Regions from separate parts of the Homo sapiens genome. Here regions 1 and 2 are each linked to region 3. The links are contacts of gene promoters, found by promoter capture Hi-C in blood cells and fetal thymus (Javierre and others, 2016). All regions are on one chromosome and are shown on one strand. Each heading gives the region's core, a stretch centred on a gene start or on the middle of the fragment in contact. The rest is flanking DNA. Distances are from core to core; before and after follow the strand shown. Region 1 holds the start of SLC25A28-DT (SLC25A28 divergent transcript). Region 2 holds the start of GOT1-DT (GOT1 divergent transcript). Region 3 holds the start of TCTN3 (tectonic family member 3).

Region 1 (2,724 bases), core at 79-2,578, 3.9 Mb after region 3:
TTTCCAATCACTCATGTGTTAAGATTTAACATGTAAGTCCTTTATCTAGCTGAGAGATCCCAGATTCGGGTTCCTGCCCCGTCAGTAAGGGAAGATACAGCAAGGAGTTTGTAAAAGCACTAGCCCAGAAAACATCTCAAGCCGTTAGATCCATTTCAGGGTCTGGTTCACGCCAGTTGGCTTCACCTTAATCGAGTTAGTAGCACTTACCTGAGCTTCGGGATACCCCATCCCACCCTATTCCTGTTTAGTCCCAGGTGGGGTCCAGGGCTTTGGCTGACAGATTTTCGATCCTGAGTCCCGATTCAGATTTCACTGACGGTTAGAAATAGGTCCTGGTTCCTGACTGGGATCAACTCCCAGCTGGGACCTTGCTTGAATGGAGTGTCGGTTCGAATCATGTGGTAGTGGCAGGAGCCAGGAAGGAACCCATGTCGGCTCCGGCTCTCAGCCGGGATCCTGGCTCCGGACAAGACCCAGGGGTCGGGTCAGCCCCAGGTCGGGTTCGAAGCCGGGTGCAGGTCTCACCTTGACGCAGTCGATGGGGTACATCACGCAGTGCTCCAGGATCCCTGCCACGGCGCCTGCCACCATGTGCGTGGTGACAGTGGCTCCAGCCGGCAGCGCCTCGTAGTCCGGGCCGGAGTCCGGATCTTGTCGTACCGGGGGCCTGCAGGCCCCGGCCTCCCCGCCGCCGGCCCCCCGGCCCACGCCCCGCTGCAGCCACCCGTCCAGCAGCGCCGACTCCCCGGGGCTCCGCCCGGGCCCTGCCGCCGGCCCCCCCGCCACACCGCCAGCACCCCGCCCCTCCAACTCCATCCACCCGGGCCAGCTGCGGCGCCCACCCCCGCCGCCGCTGCCACCACTGCCGCCGCCGCCCCCCGGCCCCGTAGTGTCCGCCTCAGGCGCGGCCCAGAGAGCCCGGGGCCTCCGGCTCCCGCTTGGCCCCGCGGACACGCCCCCCAAGCAACCATTGGTGGAGACGCCAAGTTAGACCCACCCCTTTCCTTACGTACGAAAAATCAGCCGGTAGTATTAGCGAAGTCGCCTGTCATTCCTCCGCCCTGAGGCGTTGCTAGCGCCTACATCCCACCTTTTCCCCTTTGATCTTAGAAGCTTCTTGTTTATTGGTCACTGATTGGCCGACATGTGCGATCAACCCGCCTCTGACTTTTAGAAGGGCGGGAGAAACTTAAGGCTGAACTTTGATAGGCTCAACCACTCTTGATACTTTGACCGCGGCCATTGGCCCGCACCACGTCGGTCCCCGATTGGCTACAGAAAGAGCGACGCGCCCAGGGACTCTAGGGGCCGACTTCGGGCCCCTCACTAGCGCCTGCAGAGCTGCGGTCCCTGTGCGCGGGATCGCGTCGGGGGCGGGGCGGCGACAGGCCTTCAACGTCAAACTGCTGACGGGCGCCGTTACGACCCGCGCTCCCGTGCGCTCCTCAAATTCTGAGACGCGTGGCTGGAGAGCGGGCGGCCCTGGCCCCGGAGAGCCGTGTTCCCGCGGGATCTCGTCGCGGGCGTGAGGCGGGGCCGGCCTGGGCCGGTCATCCCTGGCTGGCGCGACCCGCAGCCTGTCCGGGAAGCCGTTGCGACATGCGGGCTGGGAACCGCCTCACCTCCAGGGGGGACCGCGGCGGCCCGCTAGACTCTGGTCGGGTCTGGAGTATTGGGCCCTCTGGCCGGACTCGGTGCTCCTCAGGCCCCAGCGCCCGGCACTGAGCCTCGCATCCACATTCGCAGAGTAAACCCAACAAGTGTTGAATGAATGAGGTTCCCCGGGCCCCGGCTGTCACTGGGCTCTGCGCCAGGCCAAGAGCCGAAGGCGGGGGAGGAAGATGTCGAAATGGGCGGGATGATTCACAGATGACGGCCGGTGGCGAGGCGGGGCTGGAGGCCGCATCCCAAAGGCAGCAGGGAAGTGCGGCGGCTGTGGGGAAGCTCGGACGCACGGCCTGGCCGAGTCTGAAGCATCAGTATTTTGTCCCTGAGCCGGCGCGCTGATGGGTCCCCCGCCTGGCGATGAGGGCTTCTCCCTCCCTCGGGTCAGCCCGGGTCCTGAGAGGCAAGGCCAGCGATTCCCGGCCTTAGGACCTCCTGCTCTAGGGAGCACGGGCGTCTTCTTCCATTTGCCTTCCCCGAGCGTGTTGGCACAAGCTGCCCGCGGTTTCCAGCTCTGTCTTCTCTGTTTTACCCAGATGATGCAACTGTGGACTTCTCCATCTGTTCATAGGTTTTCCTTGGATAGGAAAGATGTTTTCCTTTTTTCTTTCTAAAGTTTAGCTCTTCTCTGGGCTTCCTTTTTAAAAACTTTTTCTACTCTCTTCAGCAGTTGTTATTAACCTTTAGGTCGCGACCGTTTGGAAAATAATAAAACTACGAATTCTCTTCTCCTACTTCCACCTCCCATCCCCTGTGTGCACTCAAAATTTTGCATATCATTTCTGCGTTTCAGAGTCCCTGAAGGTGCCATGTGGACACCCTAGGGGTCCATTAACCTGGTTAACCTCTCCCTGGCCGGCGCAGTGGCTCATGCCTGTGACCCCAACACTGTGAAGGCCGAGGTGGGACGATTTATTGAGCTCAGGAGTTCGAGACCAGCCTGGACAACATGGCAAAACCCCGTCTCTACAAAATAATAAATACAAAAAAGTACAAAAATTCAAAAATTAGCTGGGTATGGTGGTGTGCACCTGTAGTCTCAGCTACTTGGGGGAG
Region 2 (3,180 bases), core at 360-2,859, 3.7 Mb after region 3:
CCTGAGCCACCGCGCCCGGCCGACTTTTTTTTTTTTTTTTTAACAAATGCTATGCACAGACAAAACGTTATCTATGAGAAACCTGATTCTGAGCGTCCTTCATGTCACACTCTGCTACAAAATGATTCCACCTTCTCTTTCCACAATTTCTAGTCCTTTTATTCTAAGTCTATTACCTAGCATAAGACTTTATCCTACCCATTTTCATCTCTCTGGCTGGTCTTTGCACGTGGCAAAATCCAAATGGAGAAAATAAGTGTCTGTGGGGCTTCAAACATCCAAATGATAGTGAGAAGAATAACAAATTCATCAGAGAGGGTTAGGGGTAAAAAATTTGAGAGGCACTCCAATATAAATCTTCTTGGCAGATGGGGAAACTGAGGCCCATGCTCTGAGCTGTCCAAGGTACAGAAGAGAATCACTTGAATCAAGAAATGAAGATAGGATGTGTGGAAAGTAAGCTTCTACCATCCATACTTCTCTCCACTCCTTTCCACCATCTCTACCCATTCCTACCACATCTGTGACGGCCAGAACCATCTCCCCAGACCCCCCGGGGGCAGCATTAACCTGTCTCAAAGCATTGTGTAACACCAGCAGATTTTTAAATCCTTAAGGGCAAAATCAAGCCTCAGTCTCCCCCTACAAAGCTTAATAAGGTGGCTGATTGATACTCGGTGGTCACTCAAATATTTACCGACTCAGAACAGAGCTTTCTAGCGTTAAAAGTTCTCCTTTACCCATTTCCTAGCAACCAGAACCCTAAGCCTATCAGGCTTCCTATTTTTCTACCTCTCTCTACAAGCTCCGGCAGCCTCATTTCTTAGGAGGATGCAGTATAAAGAAGGCAGAATGGGGAATCGGAAAGACTGAGTTTGTGTCTTGGCTGCTACACCTGGTTTGTGCGGCCTCGGACACATCGCCCCTTTCCAGGGACTCCACACCTGCATCTGTAAAATGGGCAGGTTTTAGGAAGCCTTCGTGGATCCAGCCTCCTCTCCGGCGCCGCCCTCTTCAGGCAGCGCCACACTGGGCCTCGGCTTCTCCCACAGTCTCCACGACCTGGGTTGGGTCCGCTCCACTCCCCGAGCTGCTCACACTCCAGAGCACTACATCCTTACCTCCCACTCCCAGGTTGACCTTGCGGGGGTCCGGATCCTCCCTGAAGTCGGCAGTGAGCTTGAAGACCAGGACAGGCTGGGCCTGCGGAACCTCGGCAAAGACTGACGGAGGTGCCATATCGAGAGACTAGGAATCAAGAGATTTCACCCCACGCCCGGAGCTGGCAGGTCAGGTCTGGCCGTTGCGACTGGAGGAGACACTCACCTTCACCTAGCCGGCGGGGGCGGGCCCGCGGCCTCCAATGGTCGAGCCGCGTCCAAAGCTTGGCAACGCGATTAACCAATCGCCAGCTTCTGACGACGAAGGCACAGGGGAGAAGGAACGCTATTAGCCAATCCAAGAAAACAATTTATCGGCTGCCGAGAATGATGCAACCAATGCAATTTCCTCCGGCTGAGGCGTGGGCGAAGACTACGGTTGATTGGTAGAGCGTGCTCCTATCGCAGAGGCTGTTATTCCTTGGGTCTCCCGGCTGAGGGGAGGAGCCGAGCGAGCGGCGGGTGTCCCTGAGAGGCCACCTTTCGACCTTCGAGGGCCAGGAGGATACGGGGAGGTGGCCGGAGGGAGTTCCCGAACACAGGTCTTCCTGTTCCCGCCGAGCAGGTGTTGGCGGTGCCAGGCCCGGCCTGGCGGGCCCGGGCTGGCAGCCAAATACCCAGCGTCTGTGCTCGGGACGGGAGTGTTCGTCCAGGACGTGCAGCTCCGGAGCCTGCGCGGGCGACCTTGACCACCTTTGTCGGCTGTTTCCCCCTGAGGGAAGTATACCTGTCCTGCCAGCCTTGGTCTCTGGCAGGGAAGGTCCTTCCAACAGAGAGGGGTGCGCACGAATTCCTTTTTGCCGCTCTTCTATTAATAGTTTGAGATTTTCCTCCCCGATTCCTTGCAGAGAGGGCCTGGTCCTCAAGGACCTCGGGATCTGGGCGCGACGTCCCTTCCCAGCTTCCTCCCGCGCGCACCGGACCAGATCTTGCTGTCGTCAGCTGGCTGGTACCCAAAGTTCCTCTTCGTCAGGCTGTTCCTTCCCCGTTAGAGTCCTTCCTCCCCAGGAGCCCTCTCCATCTGCTGACCTTCAAGACCCAGAGCGAATGCCACTTCATCCATGAAGCCTTCCCTTAACCCTTATCTGGCCAAAATGTCTCTTTCCTGTGCTTCTGTACTTTCACAATTTTAGAAAATGCCTTTGTGGTTAAAAACCTATCTCCGGGACCGGACTATCTAGGTTTAGATTCTGGCTGCCGCTTACGAATTTGGGCAGGTTTAGTCAAGTTATTTTAACCTCTCTGTGGAAGTTCCTGCTCTGTGGAAATAATAGTATTTTCCTCAGAGTTGGTGTGGGGAGTTTGTGAGTTAATACATTTACGAAGTGGTTAGTTGCATGTAAGAAGGACTCTCTAAATGTCAGCTATTATTAACATTGCATATCTGCCACACCCTTCATAGATGGTAAACTGCTTTTTTTTTTTTTTTTACTTTTATTTTAGGTTCGGGATACATGCACAGGTTTGTTTTATAGATAAATTGCTTGTCATGTGGGTTTGTTGTACAAATTATTTTGTCACCCAGATAGTAAGCATAGTACTTGACAGGTATTTTTTCTGATCCTCTCCCTCCTCCCACCCTCTAGCCTCAAGTAGGTCCCAGTGTCTGTTGTTCTCTTCTTTGTGTCCATGTGTTCTCAATGTTTAGCTCCCACTTACAAGTCAGAACATGCAGTATTTGGTTTTCTCTTCCGCATTAGTTCACTTAGGATAAAGGCCTCCAGCTCCATCCATGTTGCTACAAAGGACATGATCTCTTTCTTTTTTATGGCTGCATAGTAGTCCATGGTGTATATGTACCGTATTTTCTTCAGTCTACTGGTGATGGGCATTTAGGTTGATGCCATGTCTTTACGATTGTGAATAGTGCTGCAGTGAACATACATGTACATATATCTTTATGGTAGAATGATTTATATTCTTTTGGGTATAGACCCAATACTGGGATTGTTGGGTCGAATGGTAATTCTGTTTTAAGTTCTTTGAGAAATCGCCACACTGCTTTCCGCGGTTACTGAAC
Region 3 (3,089 bases), core at 97-2,596:
AAAAAAAAAAAAAGTTTAAAAAAAAGAAATGGAAAAAAGGCCAGAATAAAAGCCAATTCTCAATAAATGTTAGACCAAGCTTGTCCAACCTGCAACCCACCGGCCGCATGCAGCCCAGGACGGCTTATGAATGCAGCCCAACAACACAAATTTGTAAACTTTCTTAAAACATTTGACATTTTTTTTGCTTTTTTTTTGTTGTTGTTTTTAACTCATCAGCTATCGTTAGTGTATTTTACGTGTGGCCCAAGACAATTCTTCTTCCAATGTGGGCCAGGGAAGACAAAATATAACACTCCTGTGTTAGAAAATGAGAACAACCAACATGTTTCTACTCACAGTTGTTCACATGGACACAAAACTGCCTGATTCCATTAGAATCCATGAAAACTCTTGAAGGAAACGGGGAATTACTCCTGAAGATAACAGAGTTGTCTACACAAACCCAGCTTGAAGACCTGTGAGGAAAGAGGAGGGAGAAGATATATTTAGAAGGGGCGGGGCAGGTCCAAAAAAGAGTGTCCCAGCAATATCGGCCAGATGATGCCAAAGAGGACTCCTTGGGCACCTATAGGACGACACGAAGGTCTTATTCTACTGGCCAGCCCTGCTCTAGAGAATCAGAAAAGGCAATTCCTAGGAAAAACCAAGGGAATGTCCTAGGAGTGGAAGTACGGGTGGGAGGCACAAAGACTAACTCTTCTTACATCCAAATGTTACCCGTTGTAGGCCCCAAACCCCTTTAGGATTCAGTCTGAGCAACGAAGCTCACCTTACGCTGCCTGGAAGGCAGAAGGAGAAAACTGTCCTCGGATGGAGAAGATAGCAGTCCCTGTCGCAGCAGCAATTTATATCGCAGGCTCCAGGAGTCAAGTCACAGACACAGATCGGTAAGACTATGAAAGTACGACACAGAGTGAGTGGGATGAAGATCCCCAAACTCTCCCAGGTGCTCACCCTCCTTCTTCCGACAGCCCCACTCCTGCTTTGTGGCAGCTCAACTTTGCTCACAGAATTTTAGATCTCAGAAGTAAGTTTCCACCCCCACAACGTTTTCCCTCACCTGGGAAGAGGTCCACAGTCCTATTCCCAGGGGCCGAGGGAGTCACGAGAGTAGGGACCACTGTAGGGAGTCCAGGCACGGCCGGGCGAGTTGCAGTCGCCTCTGAAGGGGACTGGAGGGTTCCGCCATCCGTCCCTCGCTGCAGCTCCAAAGACGTGGGCACTGCCCCTGATGGGGAGGAAGAGGGCTGAGGCCGGACGCCATCGGGGAACACCAGAAAGAACACTTGCAGGAGCGCGAGCTGTGGGGTGCGCATGGGGCATTCAGGGCCTCCGGGTCCGACGTAGGCCTCCGCGGTCTCCAATCGCATTGCCAGAGCGTGGGTGGGAGGAGTCGCATAGCGTCTGACGCCATCCGCGTGCCTCTTCTCATTGGCTCATGAGAAGGCTGAGAGCTCTTCAACCAATCGAAAGTGGGGTTGTTACAGCTCTTTCAGTGTCCTTCGGTCTGCGCCCTCCTCCTTAACGCGGGCCGGGCCGTGCCTCCGTTGCCTGGCAACCGTCAGTGACGAAGAAGCCCTTGCGCCTTCCTTCCGCTAGGTGGCGGTAGGAGTTCGGCGGACCGAGAGGTTCCGCGCCCACTTCGCGGCCCAGAGGACTGAGCCCGGCCTCCGGTGCAAGGAAACCCCAGAGGCCGGAACTAGAATTGCAAATTTTTTTTCACCCCGGATTCCAACGGTGAGAAACCCTTTCTATGGAAGAATAATGTTCTCAGGTGGGGGAAACACACCTAAGGTCACATACCTTAAAAAACAGTCTCCTCTAAATATGGCTTTTTTAAAAAAAAAAAAAACACATTAGAAATAATGTTCATTCAGCTCCTTACATTTTAACATTGAGAAATTTTGAAAACCCTAAAGAAATGCATCAAATCATTAAAGATGGACTGCATGTTTGTTGTTAGAAAAAGCAGTGAGAGAAAAATAAGAAAAAAGGGCAGGAAAAATGTGAGAAAATAGGGAGAGAAAGAATAAAAAAAAGAAACATTGTCTAGGAGGTGAGAAAATAAGATGGAGGAATGGAAATAGAAGATTTTTTTCCCCGTGTTAATGGCAAATTTTTTAAGCCTCTCTAGGAGGTTTTTGTTCTTCCCGGGAATGGCGTGCCTCTTCCGATTCCCCACAGCAGCGCGGGCCATGGGACTTTCCTTCGGTATTGGAAATGTACCGTAGCTGCACTGTCCAGCATGGTAGTCACCGGCCTTATGTGGCAATTGTGCGCTTGAAATGTGGCTAGCGTGACTGAGGAGCTGATTTTTTTTTTTTTTTTTTTTTTTGAGACGGTGTTTCGCTCTGTCGCTCAGGCTGGAGTGCAGTGGTGTGATCTCAGCTCACTGCAACCTCTGCCTCTAGGATTCAGGTGATTCTTCTGTTTCAGCCTCCTGAGTAGCTGGGATGACAGGCACGCGCCACCACGCCCGGCTAATTTTATTTTTATTTTTAGTAGAGATGGGGTTTCACCATGTTGTCCAGGCTGGTCTCGAATTCCTGACCTCAAGTGACCCTCCCGCCTTGGCCTCCTAAAGTGCTGGGATTACAGCTGTGAGTCGCTGTGCCTGGCCTGAATTTTTAATTTTTAAATTGTAATTAATTCAAAGTTAACCACAGACGTGAGTAGCTACCATATTGTACAGTGGGACTGTAGATGATCAAAATATTGCTCCTCCTAGACCCAGTATTTTCCTATGTCCACGGTTCTGACATCTGGATTATTTTGGATATTTAGTTTTAGTATATAAATTAACATCTGTTAAGAGTTATCTAAAATCTAGTACACTTACCTAAAATCTGGTCAACACCTCCCTTTACAAGTGAATCATTTAACTCAGGTAAGTTTTAGGACATTTGACTTTACTTGAATTCTCTTACAAGATCTTTATTTTCTAATGTTTTGAAGTCAGTAGCTAAAAGTCTCTCTGTGTTATAAATATTTTCAAATATGTTTTTATGTTGTTGTGTGATAGACAGCTATGGGAGATATGTGTTTGGTCTTAAAACATTTATTTACCTTATTAGTAATTTCTATAG

What was found. The method cuts DNA at HindIII sites, captures the fragments that hold promoters and counts their contacts. A CHiCAGO score of 5 or more calls a contact.
Region 1: the fragment with the promoter of SLC25A28-DT here is called in contact with the fragment with the promoter of TCTN3 in region 3 in 1 of 17 cell types (total CD4 T cells); the score reaches 5.9 in total CD4 T cells.
Region 2: the fragment with the promoter of GOT1-DT here is called in contact with the fragment with the promoter of TCTN3 in region 3 in 1 of 17 cell types (total CD8 T cells); the score reaches 7.2 in total CD8 T cells.

What each region holds. Positions count from the first base shown.
Region 1 is chr10:99,619,517-99,622,240 of GRCh38, forward strand. It overlaps SLC25A28-DT (SLC25A28 divergent transcript), which reads left to right and starts at 1,329. Exons shown (of 1, transcript NR_186534.1): 1 at 1,329-2,402. SLC25A28 (solute carrier family 25 member 28) reads right to left here and starts at 923. Exons shown (of 4, transcript NM_031212.4): 1 at 529-923. The coding sequence starts at 819. RefSeq lists enhancers at 149-731, 1,315-1,897, 1,898-2,479 and silencers at 614-773, 1,504-1,663. The HindIII fragment of the contact is 4,603 bases long and covers 1,115-2,724 here.
Region 2 is chr10:99,429,327-99,432,506 of GRCh38, forward strand. GOT1-DT (GOT1 divergent transcript) reads left to right here and starts at 1,610. Exons shown (of 5, transcript NR_183993.1): 1 at 1,610-1,939. It overlaps GOT1 (glutamic-oxaloacetic transaminase 1), which reads right to left and starts at 1,298. Exons shown (of 9, transcript NM_002079.3): 1 at 1,122-1,298. The coding sequence starts at 1,239. RefSeq lists enhancers at 1,139-1,198, 1,219-1,268, 1,449-1,878. The HindIII fragment of the contact is 5,235 bases long and covers 1,383-3,180 here.
Region 3 is chr10:95,692,581-95,695,669 of GRCh38, forward strand. It overlaps TCTN3 (tectonic family member 3), which reads right to left and starts at 1,347. Exons shown (of 14, transcript NM_015631.6): 1 at 1,064-1,347; 2 at 773-896; 3 at 340-458. The coding sequence starts at 1,319. It also overlaps a transcript of ENTPD1 not described here. RefSeq lists enhancers at 1,052-1,331, 1,806-2,307. The HindIII fragment of the contact is 4,584 bases long and covers 78-3,089 here.